4 separate regions of the Homo sapiens genome follow, and all the other regions are linked to region 3. Evidence: promoter capture Hi-C in 16 types of primary human blood cells and fetal thymus (Javierre and others, 2016). All regions are on one chromosome and are shown on one strand. Each heading gives the region's core, a stretch centred on a gene start or on the middle of the fragment in contact. The rest is flanking DNA. Distances are from core to core; before and after follow the strand shown. Region 1 overlaps RSF1 (remodeling and spacing factor 1). Region 2 overlaps RSF1 (remodeling and spacing factor 1). Region 3 holds the start of GAB2 (GRB2 associated binding protein 2). Region 4 overlaps PAK1 (p21 (RAC1) activated kinase 1).

Evidence for each region. The method cuts DNA at HindIII sites, captures the fragments that hold promoters and counts their contacts. A CHiCAGO score of 5 or more calls a contact.
Region 1: a contact is called between a fragment that was not itself captured here and the fragment with the promoter of GAB2 in region 3, in 1 of 17 cell types (erythroblasts). The highest score is 5.7, in erythroblasts.
Region 2: a fragment that was not itself captured here is called in contact with the fragment with the promoter of GAB2 in region 3 in 2 of 17 cell types (naive CD4 T cells and naive B cells); the score reaches 5.5 in naive CD4 T cells.
Region 4: a fragment that was not itself captured here is called in contact with the fragment with the promoter of GAB2 in region 3 in 1 of 17 cell types (neutrophils); the score reaches 5.9 in neutrophils.

The regions. Positions count from the first base shown.
Region 1 is chr11:77,762,243-77,769,549 of GRCh38, reverse strand. It overlaps RSF1 (remodeling and spacing factor 1), which reads left to right. Exons shown (of 16, transcript NM_016578.4): 2 at 4,861-4,952. It also overlaps the pseudogene LOC124902804. Among named protein-coding and RNA genes, the nearest start is that of RSF1-IT1, 26 kb to the right of the region's middle. The HindIII fragment of the contact is 4,436 bases long and covers 1-4,142 here.
Region 2 is chr11:77,810,144-77,817,517 of GRCh38, reverse strand. All of the region lies in intron 1 of RSF1 (remodeling and spacing factor 1), which reads left to right. It also overlaps the pseudogene RPS20P27. Among named protein-coding and RNA genes, the nearest start is that of RSF1, 6.9 kb to the left of the region's middle. The HindIII fragment of the contact is 1,997 bases long and covers 5,116-7,112 here.
Region 3 is chr11:78,415,154-78,422,226 of GRCh38, reverse strand. GAB2 (GRB2 associated binding protein 2) reads left to right here and starts at 4,407. Exons shown (of 10, transcript NM_080491.3): 1 at 4,407-4,581. The coding sequence starts at 4,507. RefSeq lists enhancers at 1,682-1,731, 4,667-5,421 and silencers at 4,018-4,637, 4,748-4,847, 4,918-5,047, 5,510-5,804. The HindIII fragment of the contact is 5,597 bases long and covers 1,257-6,853 here.
Region 4 is chr11:77,449,907-77,457,739 of GRCh38, reverse strand. All of the region lies in intron 1 of PAK1 (p21 (RAC1) activated kinase 1), which reads left to right. Among named protein-coding and RNA genes, the nearest start is that of PAK1, 20 kb to the left of the region's middle. RefSeq lists an enhancer at 299-358. The HindIII fragment of the contact is 6,933 bases long and covers 2,709-7,833 here.

The DNA of each region.
Region 1 (7,307 bases), core at 675-3,174, 650 kb after region 3:
ACTGTTTCTTTCTCCTTCAGAGTCTTTCACCTCCTGAGGCCCTGTGAAAGAAGGGGGTTTGTTTATGAAATTTATCATGTGAAAAGGTAGAGGATATTTCAGTTCAATTAGGACAAAAACTATTTTTTGGATTGACTTGAAGTGGCTAATCAGTAAATCTTTAGAAAGAAGTTAATTATCTTCTGGAAATGAAACTGTTTTAGAAATCTTGCAGGTGATAAATAAATTTAGAGCTTGTCAGTGTTTTAGAAAATGATCATGTATTTAAAAAATATGATTGATGGCTGGGCACGGTGGCTCACACCTGTAATCCCAGTATTTTGGGAGGCCGAGGTGTGGTGGCACGTGCCTGTAGTCCCAGCTACTTGGGAGGCTGAGGCAGGAGAATCATTTGAACCCAGGAGGTGGAGGTTCTAGTGAGCTGAGATTGCGCCACTGCACTCCAGCCTGGGCGACAGAGCGAGACTCCATCTCAAAAAAATATATATATGATTGATACTTTACAGCTGTCCAAAGCCATAGCAACTTACTACGTGTTTATTAAAATTTAAGATAATTTAAAAATAAATAAAATTAAGAATTGAGTTCCTTAGTTTCATTAGCCACATTTCAGCTTCTCAGTAGACACATGTGGCTAATGGCTACTGCACTGAAAAGTGTAGATATAGAACATTTCGATCATCCTGGAGCAATCTATTTAATAGACAGTGCCGTTTTAAAGAATAAAAAGTATGGTGATTTTAATGTTTAATAAACTATAATGTTGATTAATTTTCCTGTAGCCTGTTTCTTATCAGTTGACAGATTATACTAGTGCACTTAAAGATTATCAGCTTGTCAGTTCTATTTGTAACAAAATATTAATTCAGTTGGGTTATAAATTTTAATTTTAAGCATGCTGGGTCTACACTATGCAGTGCTATCCAGTACAGTAGCCACTAGCCACATGTGGCTCTTGAGCACTTGAAATGTAGCTAGTTTGAATTGAGATGTGCTGTCAATGTGAAATGCACAATGTATTTTAAATAGTCTGAAAAGTAAAATCTTTTACTTAGTACAAAAGAAAGTAATACTTTAAAAATAGTGATTGGCCGGGCGCAGTGGCTCAACACCTGTAATCCCAGCACTTTGGGAGGCCGAGGCGGGAGATCATGAGGTCAGGAGTTCGAGACCAGCCTGACGAACATGGCAAAACCCTGTCTTTACTAAAAATATAAAAATCAGCCAGGCGTGGTGGCGCACGCCTGTAATCCCAGCTACTGGGGAGGCTGAGGCAGGAGAATCGCTTGAACCCGGGAGGCAGAGGTTGCAGTGAGCCAAGATCACACCACTGCACTCCAGTCTGGGTGACAGAACGAGACTCTGTCTCAAAAAAAAAAAAAAAAAAAGCTGATAATATGTTGATATAATTTTGGATGAAGGGCATTAAATAAAATATATTATTAAAATTAATTTTAACCTCTTTTTACTTTTTATAATATTTTACTAGAAAATTTGAAATTATGTGACTCACCTTACATTTCTATTGCACAGTGCTGACTGTAGAAGAGCCAGTACTCTTTTAAATCAAGTAATACATAATCTATTTGTACATGCCTAAATCAACAATGAGTAGATTTGTAAAGTGGGATGAAAACATTTATTCACTTTTATTTTTGTCTTGTATTGGCTTTTAAAAAATAGTACCAGTTGTATCAAAATCTTTCATGATTCTGTGTAGCATAGAACACTGGTGGGGAACATGAGTAAAACACTGGTGCAAAGGTTTTAGCCAACTGCTTAATGAGTGATACAGACAGTATGAATACAGTGGGTGTTCCAGGGACAAAAAGGTTGCTGGTACTAGAAATCTATCACGGAGACTTTCGGGACTTGTATTGCCTAGACATTGAAAGATAAATATGATTCAAGTGGGCAGAAAACAATAAATAACTCTTTAATAAAGCCCACATAGGTAATGGGCTGAGCATGCTTAGTGGACCATTAACTGGCAAAATGATTCGAATCAAGGATTTCAGTGCAGGAAGTAAGAGAGAAGAATTGCAGAGTTAGTATGAGACTGAATGTTGGGACTCTGAGGCTAGGGTAAGAAATCTGGCTGGGTTTATGTAGGTATTTAGGAGCCATAAAAAATACTTACCAACTGGGAAGTGATATGAAAGCAGTCTTTTTGGAAGATTGGTTTGATTGCAGGAGACTATCCATAGCTGTTTTTCTGATGCGAGAAGGTATAGTCATGTCCTAGGGAAAGGAGGAAATAGGAGGCAGGTTTAAGATGTGGGAAGGGGGAACATCAATACTTCTGTGTTTGTGGAAAAGGAGAAATTGAAGAAAGTGACCTTGGTTTTAAAACAGAAGAGAAATAAAAGTATTTTATATTTATACAACGCTATACAGTTTCAAAATTCCATGAGATAGCCAACACAGCCTTTTTTAATGGAGAAATTGAGCTTCATTGTTTAAAGGACTTGACCAGAACCATTGTCCCCTTATATAGGTGGGGCAGCTGAGAATCCAGCCCAGATCTTTTATCACTGCACAACCAGTAAATCACTAAGTTTTGATAATTTTGTCTCCTAAACATTTCTCAGATCTGTCCACTTCTCTCTGTACCACCTCTACCTTAGTTTAGGCTACTTCTATCTTCTGGATTGAGGTTTTCCTGAATTTATATCTAGCTTCGGCCCTGCACCCCACCTCCTAAAACAAAAAAGCAAATAAAAACTTCTTTTGTTAATATTTAAAAATCTGTCTTCCTCCAATTCAATCATTAAGGTCTTCTAAAATGCAACAGACTCTCCTGCTTAAACTTTTACATAAAATCTAAACTTCTGAGCCTGGCCTCATTAGGCTGTAATTATCTATGTCCATTCCTCCAGTTCCATGTTCTTTTTGGTTTTTTAGCTATTTGCATCTGTTGTTTTTGTGCAAGCAATGCCCTTTCCCTCCTTTTCTCCATTCCACCCTTAACCCCCCATAATTCACATCTTAGTAGATTTGTCTATTTACTTGTCTTTGAACACTGTTCCCCACTCCCACCCCCAACCCACCACTCTACCTGCTATGAAGATTCACTCAAGTAGGCTCATTAAAGACAGAAGGACTGTTTCTTTCTTACTAGTATTTGACCCACTGAAAGTAGTTGAATGGGTGAATGTTTTTATATTTCAAAGTGTTGTTTCAAATTCAGAAGGAGCTTTAGTAGAGAATGAAAGAATGACTGAAAAATATTAGGTCATCATTTCCCAACCTGTCCCTCAGAGTGTTTGTATCCTACAAGATAGTGGATCAAATATGTTAGAGAACGCTGCAGATTATGTACCTATTTTGGATATTCACAATGCACATAAGGGCGAATGATAAGACAATGGTCCTGTGGTTTAAAGATAAAAAAACAACTTTTTTTTTTTTGATCCAGCATTTTGCCAATATATTTGAGTATGGGATCTTTTTAGGTAGTATACTGTAATTTCTCTTAGGTTACAAATATTTGATCATTTTAGGCCTGGTGCAGTGGCTCATGCCTGTAATCCCAGCATTTTGGGAGGCCAAGGTGGGCAGATCGCCTGAGATCAGGAGTTCCAGACAAGCCTGGCCAACGTGGTGAAACCCTGTCTCTACTAAAAATGCAAAAACTAGCCGGGAGTAGTGGTGGGCACCTGTAATTCCAGCTACTTGGGAGGCTGAGGCAGGAGAATTGCTTGAACCCAGGAGGCGGAGATTACAGTGAGCCAAGATTGTGCCACGGCACTTCAGCCTGGGCAAAAAGAGTGAGATACCGTTTCAAAAGAAAAAAGAAAAATGCTTATTTTGACAGCCGTATGTGTCCCTCTGGTCTAATTAATGTAATTAAATACAATCAGACCATGCCTAAATAATAGTTAGAGGAACTCTGATTGTTTACAGTCAAAGCAGAGAATCTGAGGGAAGATACGGCAGTCCTCAAATATTTGAAGGTTCCAACAGAAGAGGGATTAAAAGTACTGTCATTGAAACTAGAGAATAAGAGCCAGAATCAGGAGAGGAAGTTGTCAGAGGGCAGATTTTGACTGAGAGTAAGGGTAACTTTCTAGTAATTAGAACTATCCAGAAAACAGAACTAAGTGCTATGGAAGGTAAGTAATTTTTTTGTCCATGAAGCTTGTCAAGCAAAGATTCATAGAAATGCTACAGAGAAGTTTAACACATCAGACAAGGGATAGATTGGAAGAGTTTTCCAAAACAGTTTGGAAACTGTTAGTTTAATTTCTGTCGTATCTGTCAACTTGGAATTCATACTTCTTGGTTCCTTTCTAATTCTATGAATGTATGTCTTTGAAATCTCAGTAAAGGAACCAAATATTTGTTATTGCAGATAAACAATACAAACTTTAGTTGTATAGTTAAGTGCTTTTACTTGATGGTTTTTTTTTTTAACAAACTATTTTTTTAAGAGCAATTTTAGGTTCACAGAAAAATTAAGCAGCAAGTACGGAGAGTTCCCATGTATCCCTGTCCCCATACTCATACAACTTCTCTACTGTTGGCTCCCACAATAATGGTACATTTCTTATAATTGATGAACCTACATTGACATATAATTATCACCAAAGTTCATACTTTATATTAGGTTTTACTTTTATTTGATGGTGTTTTGAAAGAAAATGTGAATATTCTTGCTTGTCTTTGAGAAAGTGGTTTTTGGTCATTTCTTGCTGTAGTTTAGGCTTTTTTGATTCAGAGGTCTAAAAGTTAGCTAGTATCAACACTGTCTGTTTTGAGAAGGTATCCAGGGTTGGAGAAGATTATTTTTTTATTATCTTAAATGTTTAGAATTGTTTTATTTTGTTGGCTAATGATATTTTTTTTCTTTCTTTTAAGTACCAAAAGAATTGGTGGAGCTCCATTTGAAGCTGATGAGGAAAATTGGCAAATCTGTTACTGCAGACAGATGGGAAAAATATTTGATCAAGGTAACTAGTATTTGTAAATTTCCTGCTCTATTACTGAAATATTACTCTAGCATAAATTGATATTATGTTTTATAATACACATAATTTTTAATTAGTTTACTAAAAGTAAGACTATGGCTCCAAAATCCACATGACTGCAAGTATGTGATTCTCTTCTTTTGCTACTACTTAGTAGCAGTCTTGAGTCCTGAAGTTAGATTTCAGAAGTGTTATATCTCTTTTGTGCCTAACACTGTGCTCAGGACTTTTCATGTCTTTTCTCATTTAATTCTTAAAATCACCCTGATCACATCAAGTAAGAAACTAATAAGGCTCAGGGATGTTGTCATTTTTACTTTAGTTCACATAGTATGCATAGACTTATTTAGTGGTTCCCCTAGACTCTGTTATATAGAACAGAGGTCCCCAACCCCTGGGCCACAGACCAATAGTGGTCATCCCCATTCCTCTCCTTACCATGTGAGCTCTGCTTCCTCTGAGATCAGCTGCGGCATAGATTCTCATAGGAGTGCAAACCCTATCGTGAACTGCACATGCGAAGGATCTAGGTTGTGCACTCCTTATGAGAATCTACTGACTGATGATCCGTCACTATCTCCCATCACTTCCAGATGGGGCCATCTAGTTGATTCAAATGTAATGCATTTGAATCATCCCCAAACCATCTCCCTCCCACCCACCACCCCCAGTCTGTGGACAAATTATCTTCCGCAAAACTGGTCCCTGATGCCAGAAAGGTTGAGGACCACTGATACAGAAACATGCCATCTTTTTCGTTCCTCAGAATTTTTGCATATATGGTATCTTCTGCCTGGAGTACCTTCCCACCAGTTTGTTTTCCTAGCCAACTTATTTGTCCTTTAGGTCTCAGCTCAAGTAGTACTGTCTCCTTGAGTCCTTCTCTCAGGAAGATGTTCCTTCATGGATTTATGTTTAACCCTATTTTAGAAACTGTCATATGGTTTTATATTGAATGTTCATTATGTACCAGGCGCTGTTTAGTGCTTCCTTTGCATTATCTCAACTTTAAAATACTGATTATCCTCATTTTACTCACAAGGAAATTGATTTTGAGAAACTAAATAGAGTAACTTGTCTGGTCTCACATTGCTAAAAACGACAGAGCCAGCATTCAAATCCAGGACTTGGTGAATCCAGTACTTTAAAATATCACTGATGAAATGTTCCTCACATTTGTCTTTTGTGTATATTGTAAGTTTCTTGAAGGCTTCTTTTAATCTTTTTTTTTTTTTTTTTAAAGACAGTCTCACTCTGTCACCCAGGCTAGAGTGCAGTGGTGCTGTCTCGGCTCACTGCAACGTCCACCTCCTGGGTTCAAGCAATTCTCTTGCTTCAGCCTCCTGAGTAGCTGGGACTACAGGTGCGTGCCACCATGCCTGGCTAATTTTTTTTGTATTATTAGTAGAGACAGGGTTTCACCATATTGGCCAGGCTAGTCTCGAACTCCTGACCTCGTGATCCGCCCACCTCGGCCTCCCAAAGTGCTGGGATTACAGGCGTGAGCCACCGTGCCCGGCGGCTTCTTTTAATCTTTTATGCATCAGTATTAGATGGATCAATTAATCACTGAGACAATTTTAGTTTTCTTTCCCTTGACTGCCAGTAAGCTTAACTTTGTTATATTTATTTATTAGTTATAATCATTAGCTAGTTTTCTGATGGAATTTTTACCTTCCCTGTTACATGGCTCTTACAGTGCTCTCGTCTTTCTCCTTGTGGCATCATTGTACATATGTATTACTGAAAGCTGTTTCTTTTCCTTTTGAAGTAAATGGAATATAATTAATATAAAATTCTGTTTAAATCCAGAGCAAGTATCTGGCATCTGCTAGGCCTTGTTGCTTTGCTCATAGCAGACATTACCAACCTAAGCCTTCCTGCTAAGCCTAGACTTAGCAGACTACATTATTACACAAATCAGTCAGCATTGGCATCTATTTGTCATCTATTGTTAGTAATTCCCTAAGACAGCTGAACTAAGACCTATAGAATGAGCAGAAATTTTGTTAGGAAATAACCAGTAGCTTAGCCCTACTGTAATAGAAAGTACCTTGAGAAAATGACAGTGAGTGGAGGCCTAACAGTCATGTGTTCAGGAGGTTACTGTGATAATCCAACTGAGCAATAAGGAGACCTGAATTAAGGTTTTGGCACTAGGGATGGAAAGGAGGGGGTGGATGTAAGAGCTATTTGGAAGGTAAAATCAACAACTATTGATAATTGATAGTGAGAGAGAAAGAGAGAGAGGTGTCTAGGAACTGAGCTTAACCAAGGGCATTCATTTGTTATTGTGCTGTATCTTGCATTTGCTAACGTACATTCATCCGTAGTAGA
Region 2 (7,374 bases), core at 4,865-7,364, 610 kb after region 3:
AGGATACAGTGGTAGCCGAAATTTGCTGGTTGCCAGGTGAGCTACTGCCTTGACATACTTCATGGTTTCAAGGTTGTGCCACATTTCTATAGATGATATGTCTTTGTGAAGCTGGTTTTTTAGCGGTTGCTGTGGTAAAATTCACAAAAAAGTCAGTATGCAGCAGGAAAGAGGATAGCAGGGTCCACTCTGATTCCAAGGTTTGAAAAGTTGTGCAGTGCCCAACAGTAATACACATTTCACAAGTAATTATGGTTAAGAATGAAGTAAAAACATTATTTGTTGAAATTTAGCTAGGTTATTTTTTCACATGGCTACTGACTACTTAATAAGTGGAAGTGTTATTATTTCTGGCCTAGGGCTGCTGTGAGAAAATTACTGAGATACTGAGGGTGCCGTGAAGCTAGAATGTTTGAGAACCTTTGCTCTAGAAACTATCATTGAATTTCGGGGCAAGAAAGAAGGGACTATTGTGTCATTGCCTTTATTTTTCAGGAGGAAAATCAAGCTACAGAGAGAGATTTCAAGTGTATACAGCTAACTGTTGGTGTTAGTCAAATTCTTATTTGAAAAGCCCACATATATGCTGAAATTGTCAACAAAAAATTTAGATTTATAGTTGATACTAGTTATAAAAGGATGTGCCAAATGAAGGTGGTGTTTTATCCTCCTCTCCCTGCAGTCTACTTTAGTCCTCCCAATTCTGTGCTTTGTGTGGACTTCCCCAGGTTTCTCCTAACTGGAGGTAGATGATGGTGGTTATGGATAAAGTTGACGTTGACTTTGTGAGATCCCTGACACCCAAGGCTCCTAAGTATCTTTCCTCTCCTGCAGAGAATATTTCTTTTCAAGAGGAAACTATACTACTGTATTCTTTAAAAACAGTCTGGATATTGGTTGAGATGTTACATATATCTAATAAATTTATTAAGGTAAATACAGATAATGTGTTAGGATTCTCATAGTTTATACTATGGTTGGCTGAATTAGTTGTATGATATTAAGTAAGTTGAGCCATTAGTTTTTTGTTTCATTTTTGCATTTAATGATTTGAATTTTAACTCGAAGTGAAAATATCAAAGTTAAAAAAATGCCTTTTTAACTGGAATTGTAACTATAACTTACTATGGTCTCTCTTACTGGTACTGTAACTGATCTGTGTGTAACAATATATTTTTAGGTGCATTTGATAAAGTGGAAAGGTGATTACTGTAACTGGGGCCACATGTGTTGATTTAAACAAAAGATTTTACCAGGTGCATGTACTAGAGGTTGCATGAGTCTACAGTGGTAGACACTGGTAGGGCATACATACATTAATAGTAGTATTGCTGGGGCCAGAGCCTGGTTAGGTTGAAACTTTTTAGTTGTGTCTCTTCTGCCTTTGAAAAAGCAAATATTCTTTAGGGCACTTATTAGATGAAAAGAGAGAAACAGATTTCATCTCCACCATTTTCGATATGTCATAGAGTAAAGTTACGGAGGTTTGGAGGGAGGTTGTTGTCATTGTCCTAGGAACTAGGAGGTAATGGAGACAGAGGGACTTGTCTGGCTAACATGAGCCTGTTAATGCAAACTGGCTTACTTTTTAGTCTTTTAATGATTAAGAAGTTTGCCTTAAATTTAGATGTTTTGTTAAGTTCTTAAACAGACCTCACCGGTAAGAAGGTAAGCAAGCATTTATTAGTGAGGTTATTCACTTAATATATATATTGAGCATCTGCTATGTACAGATGTAGCTACAGTAAATATTGTGGGGATTATTTTTTTAAAAAAACATTAAACATGAGCCTTTTAAAAGAAATTTCTAATCTAGTAAGAAATAGCTAAACTGAGCTTGAAACTAATGACATCATTCAAAGACTTAGTTTTTTTTCTCTGAGATTTTATCAAGTGGAGCAATAGTCCGTGCATTCTAGTCTACAGTTGTAAACTAAAATTATCTAACAATTTTATGGTGAGATGTATGACCACATGCAATATGAAAAAGAATAATTCAGGCCTAAAGTACATGTTAAACTGAATCATGTATTCAAGGAAGACAGTTATGTGTGTTGTTAGATTTAATAAAATTTTACTCTACCTGATGGGTATAGTCTTAATATATTATGCTTGGCTTTTTTTGTTTGTTTTCTGTTTTTATTGTAGAGTAGATCCCACAAAAGGTATTAGGGTATTTTCTATTTTCTTTTAAAAACATTTAATTATATGGGCAATTATAATGTACACTTTGTAATTACATATGTTCTAGCAGGCTTTGATTTTTAATTTGTTTAGCTTTATATGGTCATATCTGTACGTTAGGTTTGCATTAGCTAACTTTTAAACATTTTTGCTCGCTCTTGTACTGTTGGGCACAAGCAGTGCCTCCAGGCAAATTGATGCCTAAACTAGAGAGAACAGCAGGCATTCTCTCCTTACTCTTCCACTTCCCCTTTACTTCCATTTCCTGATCCTCATGTCTGAAGTCACACCACCTTTAGCCATTTGAAGGGGCTGCTTCTTCCATTTTACGCTTTCTTTCACTTGTATGCCATAAAGTGCAGTGCCTGCTAGCTCCAGTGTGCTCTGTATGAGGTTTGCACCAGTGTGTTAGGAAGAAAGGAGGCACTGAAATTAAAAAAAAACCATATTTTGGGGGTTTCCAAGTCACTAAACAATTGAACCACAATAATAGAGGAAACTGACTTAAACAGTATTAAACTGGTATTGCTTCAAACATTATCAAAGGATTTCTGAGGTGAATGCCTACTTTATAAAAATGTATTTTTTCGGCTGGGCACGGTGGCTCATGCCTGTAATCCCAGCACTTAGGGAGGCCCAGGCGGCGGATCACCTGAGGTCAGGAGTTTGAGACCAGCCTGGCGAACATGGTGAAACCCCATCTGTACTAAAAATACAAAAATTAGTCAGACCTGGTGTCAGGCGCCTGTAATCCCAGCTACTCGGGAGACCGAGGCAGGAGAATCGCTTGAACCTGGGAGGCAGAGGTTGCAGTGAGCCAAGATGGTGCCACTGCACTCCAGCCTGGGTGACAGAGCGAGACTCTGTCCTTTTTTTTCCCCCCCAGAGTTAGGGCCTTGAATTCCTGGGCTCAAGAAATCCTCCTGCCCCAACCTCCCGAGTAGTTGGAACTACAGGCACATGCCACCATGCCCAGCTAATTTTTAAAAATTTTTTTGGTAGAGAATGAGGTCTTGCTGTATTGTCCAGGCTGGTCTTGAACTCCTGGACTCAGGTGATACTCCCACCTCGGCCTCCCAAAGTGCTGGGGTTACAGGCATGAGTCACCACTTGTGGCCAAAACTTTTTTTTTTTTTGAGACAGTCTCGCTCTGTGGCCCAGGCTGGAGTGCAGTGGCGCGATCCTGGTTCACTACAACCTCTGCCTCCTGGGTTCAAGTGATTCTCCTGCCTCACGCTCCCAAGTAACTGGGATTACAGGCATGCACCACCATGCCTGGCTCATTTTTATGTGTTTAGTAGGGACAGGTTTTGCCATGTTGGTCAGGCTGGTCTTGAACTCCTGGCTTCAGGTGATCCAGCCACCTCCACCTCTCAAAGTGCTGGGATTGCAGGCATGAGCCACTGTGCCCAGCCACTTCTTATTTTTATCCTGAGTTTAGGGATGTGTTAAATTGTATTAATTCTCCATTATCTCTGTGTGTGTGTGTGTGTGTGTGTGTGTGTGTGTGTGTCCTTTTACAAATTATAAATGGCCGCTCTTTGAGGAAGTCGCGGTGGTAGGTGCTGCGGCTCTGTGATCCGCAGGCTCCTGCTCCTTACTCACTACTGTTCGCTCTCGCCGAGGAACAAGTCGGTCAGGAAGCCGTGCAGCAGCTATGGCTTTGAAGGTTACCGGAAAAACACGCGTGGAGCTGGAGGTGGCAGTTCACCGAAATTGAATCACTCTAACGAGCCGCAACATAAAATCCCTGGAAAAGGTGTGTGCTGACTTCATCAGAGGAGCAGAGGCAAAGAATCTCCAAGTGAAAGGACCAGTTCGAATACCTACCAAGACTTTGAGAATCACTACAGAAAAAGTCCTTGTGGTGAAGGTTCTAAGACGTGGGATCCTTTCCAGATGAGAATCCACAAGCGACTCATTGACTTGCACAGTCCTTCTGAGATTGTTAAGCAGATTGCTTCCATCAGTTTGAGCCGGGAGTTGAGGTGAAAGTCACCATTGCAGATGCTTAAGTCAACTATTTTAATAAATTGATTACCAGTTGTTAAAAAAAAATTATAAATGGCAGACTTGATCCCATTCATCATTAGACTACTTTCATGTTTTGCTCAGAATTAAGTAAGTTTTAATATTCATTTAAAAATACTTATCAAATAAATTTGGTTTCTCTCAAAGTAAGTTGTGTAAGATATTCTGATTTTAGCAAATTATTTCATAATTTGTGCCTTTCTGTTAATAAACAGAAGAAGCAGGGATGAGGTGGTGGGGAATTTGCAGTGTTTATTTAATCTTACCAGTTTAGAGGCTGGACAAAGAGCAAGAATTAAAAGTTATGCTTAGAATGTTTGTCCAAAATTAAGGTGATCTTTTCAGTGTAAGAACATGAGTTGTGAGGGCACAGCAAGCAGAAACTACACCAGACTGATTTTTTTTTTTTTTTTTTTTTGAGATGGAGCTCTGTCACCCAGGCTAGAGTGTAGTAGTGCGATCCCAGCTCACTGCAACCTCTGCCTCCTGGGTTCAAGTGATTCTCCTGCTTCAGCCTCCTGAGTAGCTGGGACTACAGGTGCCCGCCACCACGCCCAGCTAATTTTTTTGCATTCTTAGTAGAGATGGGGTTTCGCCATGTTGGCCAGGCTGGTCTCAAAAACTCCTGACCTCAAGTGATCTGCCTGCCCCGGCCTCCCAAAGTGCTGGGATTACAGGCATGAGCCACCACATCCAGCCCAAACTGATTTTAAGAAAGAAGAGCATGAGGGCAAAACTTGACAGCAGACAGACCAGGCTTCAGCCTCCTGTAGTTGAACAAGGATTGCTTGAAGAGCAACATGAAGTATATAATGTATATATGGCTCATGTAAGCAAGAGTTCCTCCAGAAAGCTTTCGTAGTGGAGGTTGAGTCTGTATTTAATTTTAGACTCTAAGCTTTATTCTCCAGTATTTGTACATGTTTATCTTAATCATTTTCTGAATAGTAGGATTATACAGTTTTTTCCCTTTGGTTTTTCTTATATTTTTTCACATTTCATTTTCTATGTTAATTGTGCATTTCTTTGATAATCACCAAAAAACTATTTAAAACTAGATTTCTAAAGAGGCTTTTTAAAAGGAAAATTGAATTTCTGCTTGTATTTATGTACTCTTATTTTTATAGACAGGGTCTCACTCTGTCACCCAGGCTGGAGTGCAGTGGCTTGTTCTCTGCTGACTGCAACCTCTACCTCCCAGACTCAGGCGATCCTCCCATTTCAGCCTCTCAAGTTGCTGGGGACTACAGGCATGTGCCACCACACCCAGCTAAAAATTTTTTGTATTTTTAGTAGAGACAGAGTTTCATTATGTTGCCCAGGCTGGTCTCAAACTCCTGGGCTCAAGCAATCCACCTGACTCAGCCTCCCCAAGTGCTGGGATTACAGGCGTGAGCCACCAAGCTCAGCCTATTTATTTATTCTTAATCTTGAATTACCTCTTAAATGAATGTTACTATCATCTACCCAAGTCACTCAGATCAGAAACCAAGGAGGCATCCTAGACCTTAGCCTCTGACACTTTCTTTGATACCAAGTTATATTGAGTCTGTTTATCCCCTTTTATATTCAACCTTGCTTTTCTGTTCTCATTGCTAGTTTTAATCACGCCAAACTGCTTTTACATCTCTGAAGATGTGAAAGGTTGTTTTACATTTATGCTTTTTCTTCGTCCTCCTGCCTCTGAGTCGAATATACCATCCCCATCTTCCTTCCCTTGCCTGCTCACTGTACCCGTCATTAGTCTGCTCTTTAAGCATCAAATGCTCTGTGGAAAATTTCCTTCTTTCTGTCTCTCAAGTTAAATTAACCACTTCAATCTCCTTACCCTGCACGTACACTTTGTAGATTTTATGCCACAGTACTCATAACACTTTTTGCAGTTACTGCCTAGCCTACAAGATGGTAAACTCTTTGAGGACAGGGTTTCTTACTTTATTTTATCACCAGCAATTGGTGGGTAATAGCAAATATGTAGTAAATGTTTGTGGAATTAATAGTTTTCCTCAACTTACTATAGGACCATGTTCTGCTCTAAAACTTTGAAGTTAAAGCCTAGTCTGTGATAGCTTAGTACAGTGGTGGGCAATCTACAGCCTGTCCTCTCTATCTTTGTAAATAAGGTTTTACTGGTATACAGCCATGTTCATTTGTTTACATTCTGTTGTCTGTAGCTGCTTTCACACAACTGTGGCAGAGTTGAGTGATGGTCACAGAGAACATATAACTTCAAAACCTAAAGTATTGGGCTGGGTATGGTGGCTCATACTGCAATCCAAGCACTTTCGGAGGATTGTCTGAGTCCCAGAGGTTGAGGCTGATCATGCCACTGCACTCCAGCCTGGGTGAAACAGCAAGACCCTGTCTCAGAAAAAAACAAAACCCAAAACCTGAAGAACTTATTATCTGTCTAGCCCTTTACAGAAAAAAATTTACTGATCTTTATTCCAGTGTATGAAGATGGAAGTCTTATCAGATGATGATCTCTGTTTTTGAAAATACATTTAGAACCAGTATAATACAAATTTCCAGCCTCGCCAACATGGTGAAACCTGGTCTCTATTAAAAATACAAATTAGTTGGATGTGGTGGGATACACCTGTAATCCCAGCTACCTAGGAGGCTGCCACACAACAATTGCTTGAACCCAGGAGGCAGAGATTACAGTGAGCCATGATTATGCCATTGCACTCCAATCTGGGCAACAGAGGGAGACTCCACCCATCTCCCCCCCAAAAAATAAAAATAAAAAGGAACCAATATAATACAAATTAAATGCCTAGAATGTCCTGTGAATGAAACTTAGTGGAACAGTAGTCTCCCCAGTATTGATCTAATTTTACATCCAACTGTTTTAGTATTAATTACTCCTCTTGGGTTAGGTGAGTCTAAAAGCTTTTTTGTTAACAAGGTGATGACATTATATTGAACTAAATTTCTTTCATTCAAGAGTAGCCATGGCTACCTCTGCCTAATTGTCATAAGGCAATGCCAGGATGGGAGCCATGTGACATGGTAATTGGTAGTGAGGGTAAGAGTTGTTGTAACATTGCTGCTATACTGGCCTCAAAGTCTTATCCAAGTGGACTGATTAGGGGAGGGTAAGGTTGGATGAATGGTGATGCCGTGTACTCAGATGGGAAAGGATGTAGTTATTAA
Region 3 (7,073 bases), core at 3,158-5,657:
AGCCCAGGAGTTTGAGACCACTCTGGGCAACATAGCAAGACATTGTCTCTAAAAAAATAATAAGTGAGAAAAACACATTCATGTCTTCAAGGAACTCACAATTCCTCGACAAGGAAATATTTGCTGTACAGTGTGATAATCCAATTTATATAAGTGCAGTGTGGATACCAAGAAAAGAGTGAACAACTTTGCTGGAGAATGGGGACAGTCAGTTTTAGGGAAAGAGGTCTTGACGTATGTTCAAGATCTAATTCAAGGTAGGAGTTCTCTCTGCAGAGCAAATAAAAGGAGCCAGCATTGCAGAGTGTGGTTTGGAAGACTACAGCACTTTCTCAAGGATCTTGACAGTCTTTGTTCTTGGTGGATTATGACAACTGATTTACCAGTGTCAGCAGCAAAGTCGTGGGAGCCTAACTGCCACAGAGCCATTAGCACTGATTCTGGTTATTTTCAAAGGAGAAATTGGGAAAATGGGATTGCTCAAGCTTTTCTCTAAGAAAGTTTTTTTTTGTTTGTTTGTTTGTTTTTTGAGACAGAGTCTCACTCTTGTCGCCCAGGCTAGAGTGCAATGGTGCGATCTCAGCTCATTGCAACCTCCACCTCCCAGGTTCCAGCAATTCTCCTGCCTCAGCCTCCCAAGTAGCTGGGATTACAGGTGCCCGCCACCACACCCAGCTAATTTTTGTATTTTTAGTAGAGTTGGGGTTTCACCATGTTGGCCAGGCTGGTCTCAAACTCCTGACCTCAAGTGATTCACCCGCCTCAGTGTCCCAAAGTGTTGGCATTGCAGGCATGAGGCACCGCACCCGGCCAAAAGTTTATTTTCAAAATGTCTCCCACTGGGTATAGTGTCAAGTAACTCTCAGACTATTAGCCACAGACAGGGAGGAAACCCAATTAGGTCTTTAACCCCACCCCATTCCCACTTCCAGATCTCATCCTCAACCAGATGCCCAGAGTTGACTTGAGTAAGTTAAGGTAATTTGATATAGGGAACCATGTGGGCCTCAAGTAACTAGGGGTTAAAGAAGCATACACCTTTATATGCCTGAGAGATGAGTGTCCTGAAAGACACCAGCTGAGGTGGTTCAGCTGGTCACACTGACCTTCGTAAGCAGCACTCAGTTCTGAAATTAACCTGTCAACTAAATTGAAGGGGAGAAAAAGCAGAAGGGCTAGCACACAAACATCCATCCCCACCCCCAGTCCAATCACTGACGTCAGGCCTGGCGTGGGTGGTATTAATCACACAAGCTTGGTGTGCAGTTGAGGACAGCTCTCCTTCCAGCCCTTCAACCCGTTTCTGAAAGCATTCCACCAGCCATGCACCTGCCGCTGGCCACAAACCCTCAACTCCCAGACAGGCACGGATGCAGCGACGGATGTCCCTGACGACACTCAAAGCCACAGTGCACCCTTTAGAACCCCAGGCTTTGTGGGGAGTGGGAGTAGCTATGAGCGGGGGCCAAAGTGGTACCCATGCTCTCCCAGTGTGCATTTCTCTAATCTCTGCAGTGCTCCCTCCTCATAAGATAGTCATTTCCTGAGAATTTAATAAGAATATAAGATTAATGACCCAAAGCACTCTTGGAGCCGGCGATTAATTCCCCCAGGAAATACCAGTGGTCTTTAAACAAAATTGCCTAAATTATGGGCTAGTGATGCATGTCCGCTCAGGGCTTGGGGGTGGGGGGATTGTCACCCCAACTGGTTCCGATAGATGGCGCCTATCTTCATGTAAATCATTCAAATGATTTGTTTTCCATTTTTTTCCCAGCAAAAACCGGGGACCATTTAAACAGACACACACAGCAGGGAGTGGAGAGGACTTAGTAAAAGCCCAGACAGGAACTTTCCGTCCAAGGGTTGTTTCCAGGCCTGGCACGCCTCTCAGGCTCAAAAGACTGAGCCACTCCAGGGTGCAGCCAGGGACTTGAGCAGCAGTCTTGCTTCCTATGCACAGCCCGAGATGGGCACTAGCAGCAAGAGGGACGCAGGGTGGGAGTCCAGCTGAAGAGCACAGTAAAAAAGCCCCTTTCGGCCGGGCTCACGCCTGTAATCCCAGCACTTTGGGAAGCCGAGGCAGGCGGATTACGAGGTCAGGAGATCGAGACCATCCTGGCTAACATGGTGAAACCCCGTCTCTACTAAAAAAAAATACAAAACATTAGCTGGGCGTGGTGACGGGCGCCTGTAGTACCAGCTACTAGGGAGGCTGAGGCAGGAGAATGGCGTGAACCTGGGAGGCGGAGCTGGCAGTGAGCGGAGATCACGCCACTGCACTCTAGCCTGGGCAACAGAGCGAGACTCCGTCTAAAAAAAAAAAAAAAAGCTCCTTTCTTTAACCTTTGGGGAAAGATGGGGGTGTTCAGAGAACCCTTCCCAAAGTCGATACCTGGTGACTGTTGTATTCATATTTCAAGGTCCCTCCTGCCATTGGCCAAACAAGAAACATCAAACTTTTCCATTTCCACATGAAATTGTAAATAACACCATCTTTTCCTAAGCAAACAAAATAAGACTTTAAGGAATTTCTGGCAGAATATGACCTAACCCCCACTAACTCTTGCTAAACAGTCTTCCAGTCTGTGTATTGAATCATGTAACTATCAAAGGATACGTAAGACTACTCTTCTGGGGGAAGATAGGGCATACGTATGCCTGACTTGCATCACAAACCTCAGCTGCAGCCAAACCATGCAGATTTCTCCGACTCTGCAATCTCTGGGACTTGGCACCATGACTCAGATGTGAATGAAGTCAGGATAGTTTTATTTTGGTTGGAAGTCACCGCCTCCTGATTGATTTGGCAGACGTTAAGTGTTGTTTGTCTTACAGGGATTTAAGGTACTTAAAGCCAGAAGTTAAAATGGCCATCATTCTGGTGGTGGCCCTTCATACGTGACTTAAGGATCCCTAAATTGTAAGGTTAAGGGAGCTGTGGTCCCAGCCTACCAGTTCTGGCTTTACTTCCCATCCAGCAGCACACTGGATATTGAAGAAAGTCAGTGAAATGTTAGATCCAGGGGACTGACCGCTAAAACTCCCAGGGTATCTAGAAGAGCTAAGTACGTGGTAGGGGATTCGCTTTTCCAAATTGAGGAGGGTGAACTTCCCCCAACCCAATCAAGATCTTTTGGACCAAATGATGTCCAACTGCTTGAAACAACTCAGCTGCACAGAGACAGAAATAAACAAAACAGCTTTAGTCTGAGGTTGTGTGGGGCACTGCAAGATGCTGCTTCTCCAATTCATCTGTCCACACAGCACGGTTCCCCATTGAATAAACAGGTTACTATCCACTTATCAGAGAAGTTAGGGAGGACCTGCCTTTTAATGCTGCTTAGAGAGACACTTTGTGATGAGAAAAGAGCTCGTACAAAAGATTTTTTTCTCCCCCCTCCCGCTGAAGTGCTGGGGTTGTGTGCTTCCACGTACATCTGGGATACCATTATATTTACAAACAGAGGTCTCATAGCCTGTGTCAATGAGCGGGAACGTTGGGGAATTTGGACCCCAATTTCTTGTTCTTCTGCACTTGACCTTGCCTTCCAATTCGTTATGAAATACATTGACTAGTTTTGCTTCTTCCATTCTACAAATCATGCGAATTTTCTATACTAAACTGTGTTTTCCCAGAGGCAGTGTAGGAGGGAGTCAGCTGGACTTGGTTTCCAGGCAATGAGAGGCTCCCAGGTCGATCCCATTAAGGCAATGCCCTCATTTTGAATAGCAGATGACCGGGACCCCTCCTCCCCCACACACCTGAATTGGAAAATTGGCTCGGCTTTGTACAAGCCCTTGCCCTTAGGCTGTCCATAAAATAGGAACAATACTGAAGACAATCCTGTAAGCTACAAAAGCAAAGGCTCCGGCGCGTAGTAGGTCCGTCTCCTCCTCCCGCCGAGGGACGCCAGAGTTAAGGAGCTTCTTGCTGGGAAGGGGTCCCTCCTTTCAGCCGGAACCTGACCCGCAGAATGTATCGGAAATGTGAGCAGCCCTAGTATCCCTTCCCCGTCGACGCTCGGTGAAAAATCGATCGACGACCGAGGGCGCGCAGTCCCTTCCCCTCACACCCGCCAGCGCCAGGGGCGCGGTCGCCTCCCTGGCCTCCGCGCCCGCGGCTTGGGGCCTCAGGAGAAAGCGAGACTCCGGGGCGCGCCGGCGGCGGTGGCTTTCTGTATCCTCGCGGGTCCCTAGCCCCGCGTCCGCGTGCGCGGCGGCCTCGGGGGCGCGGCGGGAGCGGGCGTGGCGAGCGAGCCGGCCTTCCTGCTGCAGCTGCTCCCCCGGCGGCCGGGCGGAGAGTGCGGATTGCGCGCGCTCGGGGCGGGGGAGCGGGCGCGCGCGAGGCTGCCGGGCTCGCGCCGCGCCGCGCCGCCTAGTCCCCGCCGGGCCGCCCGCCCCGCCCCTGGCCTCCCGCGAGCTGCGCACCGCCGGCCGCTGCCCCAGCTGCCCGAGCCCGCGCCCTCGTCCGCGCGACCCGGCGGGGGGCTCCAGGCCGGCAGCATGAGCGGCGGCGGCGACGTGGTGTGCACCGGCTGGCTGAGGAAATCGCCTCCCGAGAAGAAGTTGAGGCGCTATGTGAGTGCGGGCGCGGCCGCCCAGGGGCGGGCGGGGGGCGCTCCGGGGCCTGCGGAGGGGCGGGGGACTCCCGGAGGGGCGGCAGGCTGGGGAGCTCGGGCCCGGAGCCGCGGGGGGCCGGGGGCGAGGAGCGGCCGGGGGCGTGTGGGGCACCTGCACACCTGTCACAGGTGGGCCGCCGAGGGGCGGGGCGGGCGGCAGGTTGAGGCTGCGGCTCCTGCTCCGCCAGGCGGGTGCGGCTGCGGCGCCTCCCAAGCCGGTCTGCTCGTGAACTAAATACAGTGTCGAAGTTTTGTATTGATGGCTTCTGGAGACCGAGAGAGTTGACTCTCGGGGCTGGGGCTCCGCGGCAGCCCCGAGCAGCTTCAGCCCGCAGGGTCGGGGAGAGGGCGGGAAAGGGGGGCGTAGGCTGTGGGGCCGCGCGGACGGCCCCACAAAGGGCGAGCGCCTCACGCCCTCTCCTTCCCTTTCTCCGCCTGCCCCTCCCGGCCGCCGGCCTCCCTCCGTCCGCGGCTGCATCACCGGCAGCGTCAGCGGCATGTGCAGCCCTTGTATTAAGTGACTCATTTGTTTGTCCCCCTTCTTTCCCTTTATTCCGTTCGTCTCTCACAGGCGCCTCCCCCCGACCCCGGTGTGACACTGCAGTTTGGTCCCCGTGGCTGGCCCGGGTTTGGGACCGGGCAGCTCCCGGGTGTCTGGGGTCGGGAGAGATCGAGGCTCTCCGCGGCCAGGTGTTGCCAACCGACAGTGTTTACTGAGATCGCTGGAACAGCCTTTTCCCTCTAGGTGGGGAACTGGCAGCCTGGGGGAGGTGGAACAGCGTGGCGCTGAGCCGTGGAGTTCTGGCTTTTTTTTTTTTTTTTTTTAACCCCTCTCCCCAGAGGATGCCTTGCCTGGTGAGGTCAAAGTACAAGATGGTGCCAGTTACTGAGATTTGGCCGAAATGGTCTTGGGGTAGTCGCGGGAGTTTGGAAGTGGGGGTAAGGTTGCTGGAAGGTTTCAAGGTCTCTCATCTGCTCCCTCTCCGTTTCCCATGAAATGCCCTTGTTTAACGGGCTGTGGTGCCGAACTCCGGGATCACTCCCACAGCCTGGAAGGGAGCCGTTGCCTCCAGCTGCAGTGCATCAAGGGAGCTCGGAATAGACCCTGCCCTCTGTCAGCTGCACCAGTGGCTGTCCATGGGGGGAGAGGCAGAAGCCTACCAGAATTTCCTGTCTTGGCTCCCCAGATCAGAATCAAGGGACTTCTGGCCTCTGGACTGAGGAAGTGACATTCTGTTTTTCAAAGGAAGTGTTGTTGTTGCGGAGTACAAGTGTGTGTCAATGAAATCAGGCTCTTAGGTAGATGTTTGCTGGGGGAAAAAAATCTAAGGATTTAGCACATGAGTTTTGAAAGTGGACGTGGATTTATAGGAGGAATGAAGCAGTGAATTGTTCATCTCAGTTCGGAAGCTCATTTTTAGGAGTGTCTATGTAGCCAAAGTATAATTATTAAGAAATAAACTTTTTTCCTCTTCAGGGTTGTATCAGTTCGTTAGGAAGGTTGAATATTTTAATTAGGATTAAGGAGCAGTGATTTACTATTAACAATTTTATAAATAATTTAAAAACTTTGTCCCGAAGAGCTTCCAAAAATTATCTATACAAATAGATTTCCATACAAGCTAGTGGAATACAGTGTCCACAGTAAAAAAAAAAAAAAAAAAAGTGACCCTTAATTTTCAAGTTTGAACACTATACACTAAAGAACCTTGAAAGTTGTTTTTGAAACAATTTGCAAACAGTATGACACTGTATCTACATTTGACTTATCGCTCCTTGAACTCTCACCCAGACTCTATGACCCATTTCTTGGGTGTTTTTGTTCCCAAACAACTTTAGTTCAAAATAACCAGGTTTGGAGGCATTTGGGTCAAGCACCTTTTTCACTGATTTGAACGAATCTAGTCGTATGATGGCCTTAGCCTCTCTTTCCCATCTTCCATGTACCTTCAGCCCATCAGGTGTCAGACCTTAACAGCTTTAAGTAACAGCTTTTCTTAGGTTAGGATGTGATGTGTTCACTTACATGACTGGAAGCCTCTGCCCCTTCGGAAGTTCAGTTTCCCCCTAACTGAAACTGGTGATATGTGTAACCTTAAGCCTCTGGGGAACAGTATGCCTTTACATCTACTTTTCTTTTGGGGTATTCAGAATTTTTGCATCCTGTTGTAAGTTAAAACTCTGCTAGTTTGCTTATTTCAGTAGAGGCCCGAGTTCATTAGAACCAAGCTTGGAAAGTATTTCCCAGCCCCATGGCTGTATATTTACCCCAAAGTAGCTGCTGCTTCTGGTATACATCATAGGCGTGTTATATTGTAGATTGAGAAATCCTCATTATAAGAATACATCGAGCATATGTGATAAGGGGAAAAAGTAGTTGAACTAGGTTATAACTATTTAAAACGATTTTTTAAAAAACTGACTTAATTTGAAGTCTGGGCGCAGTGGCTT
Region 4 (7,833 bases), core at 4,926-7,425, 970 kb after region 3:
TCATTGTAATTCTTCCTGGAGATTGAGATGGAAATGAGAAAGGCTTTGGGCTGCCGACTGGGTGTCCACATTCATGAGAACTTAGAAATGAAGAGGGACCAAATGCCATGCCTGACCTAGACAGCTTCAGGTCAGCCAATTGTTGCTTTCCTGCCTCTCCCTTTGTTCTCTGTGCCTCTAGCCTCCTATCTGCTGGAGGTTTGTGCTACAGCTGTTTATGCCAATTAATGTAATGCTAATGCGCCCCTTAATGAACCCATGGAAGCACACGGTCCCAGCCAGTGAATAAGAACTGCAGAGCCGCAGCCTTCAAAGCACCTTTTTACTAACAATTGGACCAGGCACCTGAATATCTTTTCACATTGTTTTTGAAACCATGGAAACAGAAGTTGAACACGACCTTAGTTTTGGAAGTCTAACAGCTCACTTTATAGAATAAGGAAAAATAATGACAGAGATGATGAAGTTCATGCCCAATTAATAATTCCAAACCTCACATTTCAACAAGGCTGTAACATGTAAATATAATTTTCTCTTCTCTGTGTATTGTGTAGCTGTTAAAATCTCTGCTACTGACCTAACATTGAATCCTGTGGCCCTGCCATTTCCTGACTGTGATCTGGCCAGAGTAGTTTTAGTTAACCTCTGTGGTTTTGGTTTCCTTATACGTGAAATGGTACTAATAATAGTACCTGCTTTGGCTGGGTGCGGCAGTTCATGCCTGTAATCCCAGCACTTTGGGAGGCCGAGGCGGGCGGATCACAAGGTCAGGAGATTGAGACCATTCTGGCTAACACGGAGAAACCCTGTCTCTACTAAAAATACGAAAAATTAGCCGGGCGTGGTGGTGCACGCCTGTAGTCCCAGGTACTCGAGAGGCTGAGGCAGAAAAACGGCATGAACCTGGGAGGTGGAGCTTGCAGTGAGCTGAGATTACGCCACTGCACCCCAGTCTGGGTGGCAGTGCGAGACTCCGTCTGAAAAAAAAAAACAAAAAACCAAATAATAATAATTGTACCTGCATCCTATGTTTGTTATTAGGATTACATGAGGTAGTAGTTGTAAAGCACTTAGCAAATTTTGGCACATAAGAAGTCCTTAACAAATGTCGGCTATCATTATCATTACAGGATAGAGAAGCTAAAATGATTTTAAATGACTTCTGCTTTAATTTATAGCCCTGCCCTCAAAACCTTTGTTCCTAATTCTTCAATTAGAATATAAGCCTTGTGAAAACAAAGACCTTCTCTGCTTGCTTCTTTGTTGTCCTCAGCACCTAGACCAATTTTTAGCACATAGTAGATACCTAATAAATATTTGGTGAATTAATGAATTCTAGGGACATTTTCTCTGAATAACATCTAGGTTTAGATACTTGAATCTTTTTTTTTCCTTTACTGTTGTTTATATGAATATGCACTTAAAAAATAGTTTTTATGTTGTGTCTTTGATCTTTGTGGGTATCCTTGTTTCCTTCTACGTTGTAAGGCTCCAAGAGTGGGAGAGTGTGATGTCTACTATGGGAATCTCCCTATAGCTTCTAGTATGGTATTTTTTTTAAAATACAGTTATTAGTGCTTAGTAATTACTGACAACTGACTATAAAATTCACTTGTATTCAACATTAATTTTTTGAGCAAAAACTAGTATGTGCAGTGGTATCATTTCCAACTCTTTAAGAAGTTGTGAATTTGTAGGTGCAGGTGCAGTCTTTGGTGGCAAGAGACACCTTATTACTATTGTAAATGTTGATCTTTGCACTTGAAATAGCCCTCTCCTTCCTCTCTGTCCCTTTCTACCAGATGACATACCCCTCATTCTTCAGAGCTCAGTCTCCTGTCAAGTCTTTCTTCCTTTATGTAAGTCTTTCTTCCTCTTTTTGTAAATCTCTTCATGGAGGTAGTGGATAACTTTTGCAAATGGGGTTATTTTGAGGGAGGACATTCCACACTGATAGAAGAGCTGATGCAAAGACATGGTAGGAAAGGGCCAGGTGTCATGGGAATATGATAGTAAATATTATATGCTATCTTATTTGTCATGGCTCTTATTAATAGGGGCAAACAGGAGAGTCCATTCTAGCAAGTTTAAGCAAAAAAGATTTATTAAAGGATATCAGAGAGATTTAGGAATCTTTGGGAGAGTTAAAGAAATGGACCCGGCTGGGCTTCCAGGAACAAACTCCCCAAACTACATTGAATAACTGAGTCCCCAAGGATGCTGCTCTTTGCCAGAATCAGGAACCTGTTGCTACAGTTGCTAGATAGAGAACTATGCTGCCTCTGCTGCAGTTTGTTCCAGCAAAAGGGATGTCCTGTGCTAGTCTCTCCCATCATCCAATTTAGTTCTAATCAGTATCTAGTCTGAGAGCATCTGAATGGTGGAACCTAAATCACATTTAGAAGGAAATCTGAGAAGTAATGTTTTTTTTTTTTTTCAACCTCTGTAGTGCCTACTAGGCTAGAAAGGAGTTGGAATAGGTGTTGAGCAAAGCAGTGTATACATTATGCCCTAGAGAATATTCAGGTGGCTGTACCCTCTTCTAGTACCAAATTGTGTATCATTTGGAATTCGGTAAACAGAAATTCTGACTCAAATTTGGCTTAAATCATGTTGACGTTTTTATCATGCTTGTGTTACCTTTATCCACAAGCCGGCTTCCATCATGGTAGTAAATTGGCTGACAAGACCAGCTGGGGAGATAAGCTTCTTTATTCACCAGTGGATGAGAGAGACAGAGAGAGAGAGAGAAAGGGAGAGAGACTGACTGATTTTATTTCAGAAAATGGACAAAAATTTCTTCTCCTCAGTGAAATTGAACCAGTAGAGACCACCTGCCCATCCCTGAACTACAAGAATTTCTAGGGACATGCCAGGTACTGATTGAGTAAACCTAAATCTGATTCAAGAACTAATCACTGGCAAGGAGAATGGAATTACCATGTTTGGTTTGGATGTACAATCAGGGCCTGCTCTTGGAGCTAGGAATGGGGTCAGCTTTCTCTGAGAACAGTGCTTCTCAAAGTGTTGTGTTCTGGGAACTTGCTAAAAATGCAAATTCTGGAGCCACATCTCAGACTTATGAATCAAAAACTCTGGGTGTGGGGCCCAGGAATCTGTGTTTTAACAAGCCCGCCAGATGATTTTGATTTCATGCTAAAATTTGAGAACTGCCTTAGAAACTGTTTGATGAGGGATGAATACCTGATAAAAAAAAAAGTCTGGGCTCTGTTAGGGAGAAGAAGGGAATGGATGCTGGGTAGGCAGCCAACAGCATCCATTTCAAAACTGGAAAGACGGATAGGGACCAGTTCATGAGGAATCTTGAATGTCTAGCTCACAAGGTGGTGGTGGTTGTGAGATATAAAACCGGATAATGTGTGTCTGAGGGACTTGTACAATGAAGGAGATAGGTTATAATAGGGACAGAGTATATTGAACTTGGAGCCAGAGTTTGGATTCTCATCCTGGTCTTTTTACCTCATTGAGCTTCGGGCTCCCCTTCTGTAAAATAGGGAATATAACCACTGGGGTGTTGAGACAATTAAATGGACAAATATATGTGGAAGTGCCTAGTACGTAATTTAGCATATTAATAGGTAAAGAGCTACAGAATATGAATGATGATACTTGGCTAAGGTAGTATGAATTTTATTTATTTGTTTATTTATTTTTCAAGACAAGGTCTCGCTCTGTCACCTAGGCTGGAGTACAGTGGCCTGATCATAGTTCACTGCAGCTTCAACCTCCTACTTCAGCCTGCCAAGTAGCTGGGGCTACAGGCACGTGCCACCATACCCAGTTAATTTTTTTGTATTTTTTTGTAGAGATGGGGTTTCGCCATATTGCCAGACTGGTCTTGAAGTCCTGAGTTCAAGCAATCCTCCTGCCTCAGCCTCCCAAAGTGCTAAGATTACAGGTGTGAGCCACCGCACCCAGCCTGGTGTTGGATCTTTGATCATATTCAGATCAGCTCTGGTTTAACTGCATGAACATGGGTTCTGCTCTGCAGTCTTACCCTGGGGCATTATATGAATTATTTGGCTGTTACAGGGATAGTGCAGTTCCTTTTGCTCTTATAACTAATATGTATTCAGCTTGCTGTGACCATACATATTTTATGTTCTTCCCTGGCACTATAATTCATTCCTTTTTATTTTCTCCTGTGAGGTAATTAAAATTTGTAATACCATGCCCTTTTCCCCCTTGTTTTTTTTTTTTTTAATATATCTCACATTTTCTAAATATAGAATACTTACAAGTTCATGTTAAGTTTCAGTGGGAAAGGTGTTTAGAATCAGTTTGGACTCTCTCCTTTGCTTTATATATAAAGAAACTAGGACAGACAGGGAAATAATTTTTCCAAAAAAATTTTTTTTTTTCCTGAGACTGAGTTTTGCTCTTTTCGCCCAGGCTGGAGTGCAATGGCGCGATCTCGGCTCACTGAAACCTCTGCTGCCTGGGTTCAAGCGATTCTTCTGCCTCAGCCTCCTGAGTAGCTGGGACTATAGGCGTGCGCCATACACCTGGCTAATTTTTGTATTTTTAGTAGAGACGGGGTTTTGCCATATTGGCCAGGCTGATCTTGAACTCTTGACCTCAGGCGATCTGCTTGCCTCGGCCTCCTGAAGTGCTGGGATTACAGGCGTGAGCCACCGCACCTGGCCTCCAAAATCTTATATATCCCACTTCTTCCTTCTTCCTATTTCTTGGCATGGATGAATTTACATCTGGGGCTTTCATTTTTTTGTTCTGTAATACTAGTAAAAAGTCATTTGTAGATTGTTTAGATCTGATGGGATTTAGTTAAAGTCATAAGCCTGATTTGCTGTGAGGCAGGGCTGATGTGCCAACCTAGGAAGAGAGAAAGCTAGTGAATAGAAGTGTTAGGAATCCAGCAGAGGGAAAAGGGCCCTACCATGAACACACTCTTTACTCCTACTTGGCTTGTTATTAGATGTGCCAACCCTGTTATTAGGTGGCTTATGGCTTCTTCTTTCTTTATATCTAGGGTGTTTGAGGAAGGTAAATATGCCTTTTGAATGGGTAATTTCTACTCTTTGGTGCTGAGCATTTTCCACCTTCGTCTATACTGTAAATAACCAGTCTTTTTTTTTCTTTTAGAAAGTTACTGCTTGAGTGGCAAGGAAATTAGAGAAACTGCTTCTCATAGACTAGTTGGGTTGCTGGCTGAAGGGGACCCTAGGAGATGTCTAATTCAACACCCTTATTTTATGAATGAGAAACTGAAGCCAAGAGAAGAAAAGCAGCTCATTCAATATTATATAAGTTAGTTACAGAGTCAAGACCACATCTCAGCACTTCTGACTCCCTATTAAGTATATTTTTACTACACCTCTCTGCAAGGCAAGTGTAAGAGGAATTGTGGGGTAGTGTAAAGAGTGCAGATTTGAGGGCATGAGATCTGGGTACAAACTGTGGCTCTGCTACTTACTGACCTGTTTCTCAGAAAGTAATATCACTTCCTTAAGCACCAGTTTCCTATTTATAAAATGAAATTATGTTGATACTCTGCCTCACAGCGTTATCATTAGAATGAAATGTGAGATGCAGGGGAAAAAATGAAATGAAGACTTTAAAGTGGACGTGGCCAATTTACTTATGAATTTTTAGCTCCATCACTTATTAACTGTGTGATTTTGGGCAAGTCACTTAATTTCTGTGAACGTAGTTTTTTCTTTGTAAAATTGAGACAATAATAGCTCTCTTACAGGGTTGTTTTGAGGACATTAATATATATAAATGTAGGGGAAAAGAAATATTTTTCCCATTGCTATGTTCATGGCTGAGGCTCCTGTAGCAAAAGACATTAACGAGAGAGGTCGGGCGTGGTGGCTCACGCCTGTAATCCCAGCACTTTGGGAGGCCGAGGCAGGCGGATCACCTGAGGTCAGGAGTTCGAGACAGCCTGACCAAAATGGTGAAACCCCGTCTCTACTAAAAATACAAAAAATTAGCCGGGCGTGGTGGTGGCGCCTGTAGTCCCAGCTACTCGGGAGGCTGAGGCAGGAGAATGGCATGAACCCAGGAGGCGGAGCTTGCAGTGAGCAGAAATCGTGCCACTGCACTCCAGCCTGGGCGACAGAGCAAGACGCCGTCTCAAAAAAAAAACAAAAAAAAACAAAAGACATTAACGAGAGAAAAGCAAGCAAATATATTTAATACAAGTTTTACATGACATAGGAGCCTTCATAAGGAAATGAGGATGCAAAGAAACAGGCAAACTTGTGTATTTTTATGTTTAGGTTTGATGGAAGAAGTGGGTAGTCTTGGAGAAATATGATTGGACAAAGGCGGTATGATGTAATGGTAATAGGATCAGGGTTGGAGGGAACTTAGCAAGGCTGGTTTGTTCAGATTTTTCTGTATGTCCCTGTGTCTTCAGAGAAAAATGAGGCTTTCCTCTGGGAATAAGGAGGGTACCTCTTGAATGAGGATCTGATTACCTGCTTCAGGGGAGAAGGGTGAGGGGAAGCTGAGAGTGAGAATACTTTCTTGCGTCTGCTGTTTTCTCATATGCTAAGATGTCATATTTTGGGGTAGCATGTCTTGAACCCCATTATAAAGAATCAAAGTGGTGGCTGGAACATAATAGGTAGTCAGTAAATGTTTGAGATATTCTCAGAAGACTTAGTTCTGTCTTCTCAAATGGTTTCCCTAAAGTCTTAAAATAAATACATCAGAACTTCTTGTTCTGTGGTTTTAAAGTGTTTTGTGGAGTTTGATTCCAGAGGCTATAGGTGGTGTAAGGTATGAGCTTTGCTGTTAGTCAGATTTCCATTCTAAACTCCTGTGGCACATAGGCAAGCTCTTCTGCCCAGAGAAGGGCCTCTAGAGATGGCAGGTTTTGTGGTAAATGGATTGAAAAAGAGGAGGAGGAAACTTGGTAACTGGGAAACTTGGGTCACTTCTGCAGGCAGTTGCAGCCCACTGAATAGCAGTATGTCAGGACCTTAGTGGTGAAACCATTTTTCATTGTGATCTCTGTCTCTGTTATTCTAAGTGTCTCAAAAACTGGAACCATGTCTAAGTCCTCTGCTGTTTCAACACCTGACCCACAGTAGATATGCCAATGTATTTTTTTGAAATAATATCTATCTAAAGTGGAGAACTTCTGTGGCCCATAGAGTTCCATAAATCCCTAATGGCTCCTAATTCTTCACCCCAGCTTCACCTTGCAGAGATATTTGTATTTAACAAGGATTTTCTAGTCTTTAATCATAAGGATTTGCAGGATTTCAGGTCTTGGGTTTTTTAGGCCTTGCTCTGCTGCCTACTTCCCTTTGCAAATATGGTCAGGCCAGACAGCTATTTCCTTCATCCCTAGTCATTGTGTGGGACCTGCCAGGTTCTTTCGGGTTTTTAATGCTGGGGTGGTATTTGTGGCTTTAATGCACAAGAGTTGGGGAGCATGAAACCCACATGATCAGGTAAACATCATTCTCTCAGTGGGTCCAGGGTTATGAGAAAACATAATGCTGGGATGTTCTTTCTTCCCAACTCTACCCCTAGAATTGATACTTTTATGTAAGCCATTAATTCAGTAAATACCTTCTGAGCATATATACTGTGGATCAGACATTCTGCTGGGTGCTTTAAATAATTATCTTTCCAAATACTCACAAGTTAATACTTTGAGTTAGACTGAGGGTATTGCCTTCAATTTCGCAGAAAAGGAGTCTGAAGTTTAGATGAAAGGAAATGACTTGCCTTAGCTAGTAAAGGGCAGACCCAGGATTTGAAACCAAGTCTTCATGACTAAAAGATAATCATTGATTGTCATGCTTGTCTATGCTTTCAGAATGGGAAGCT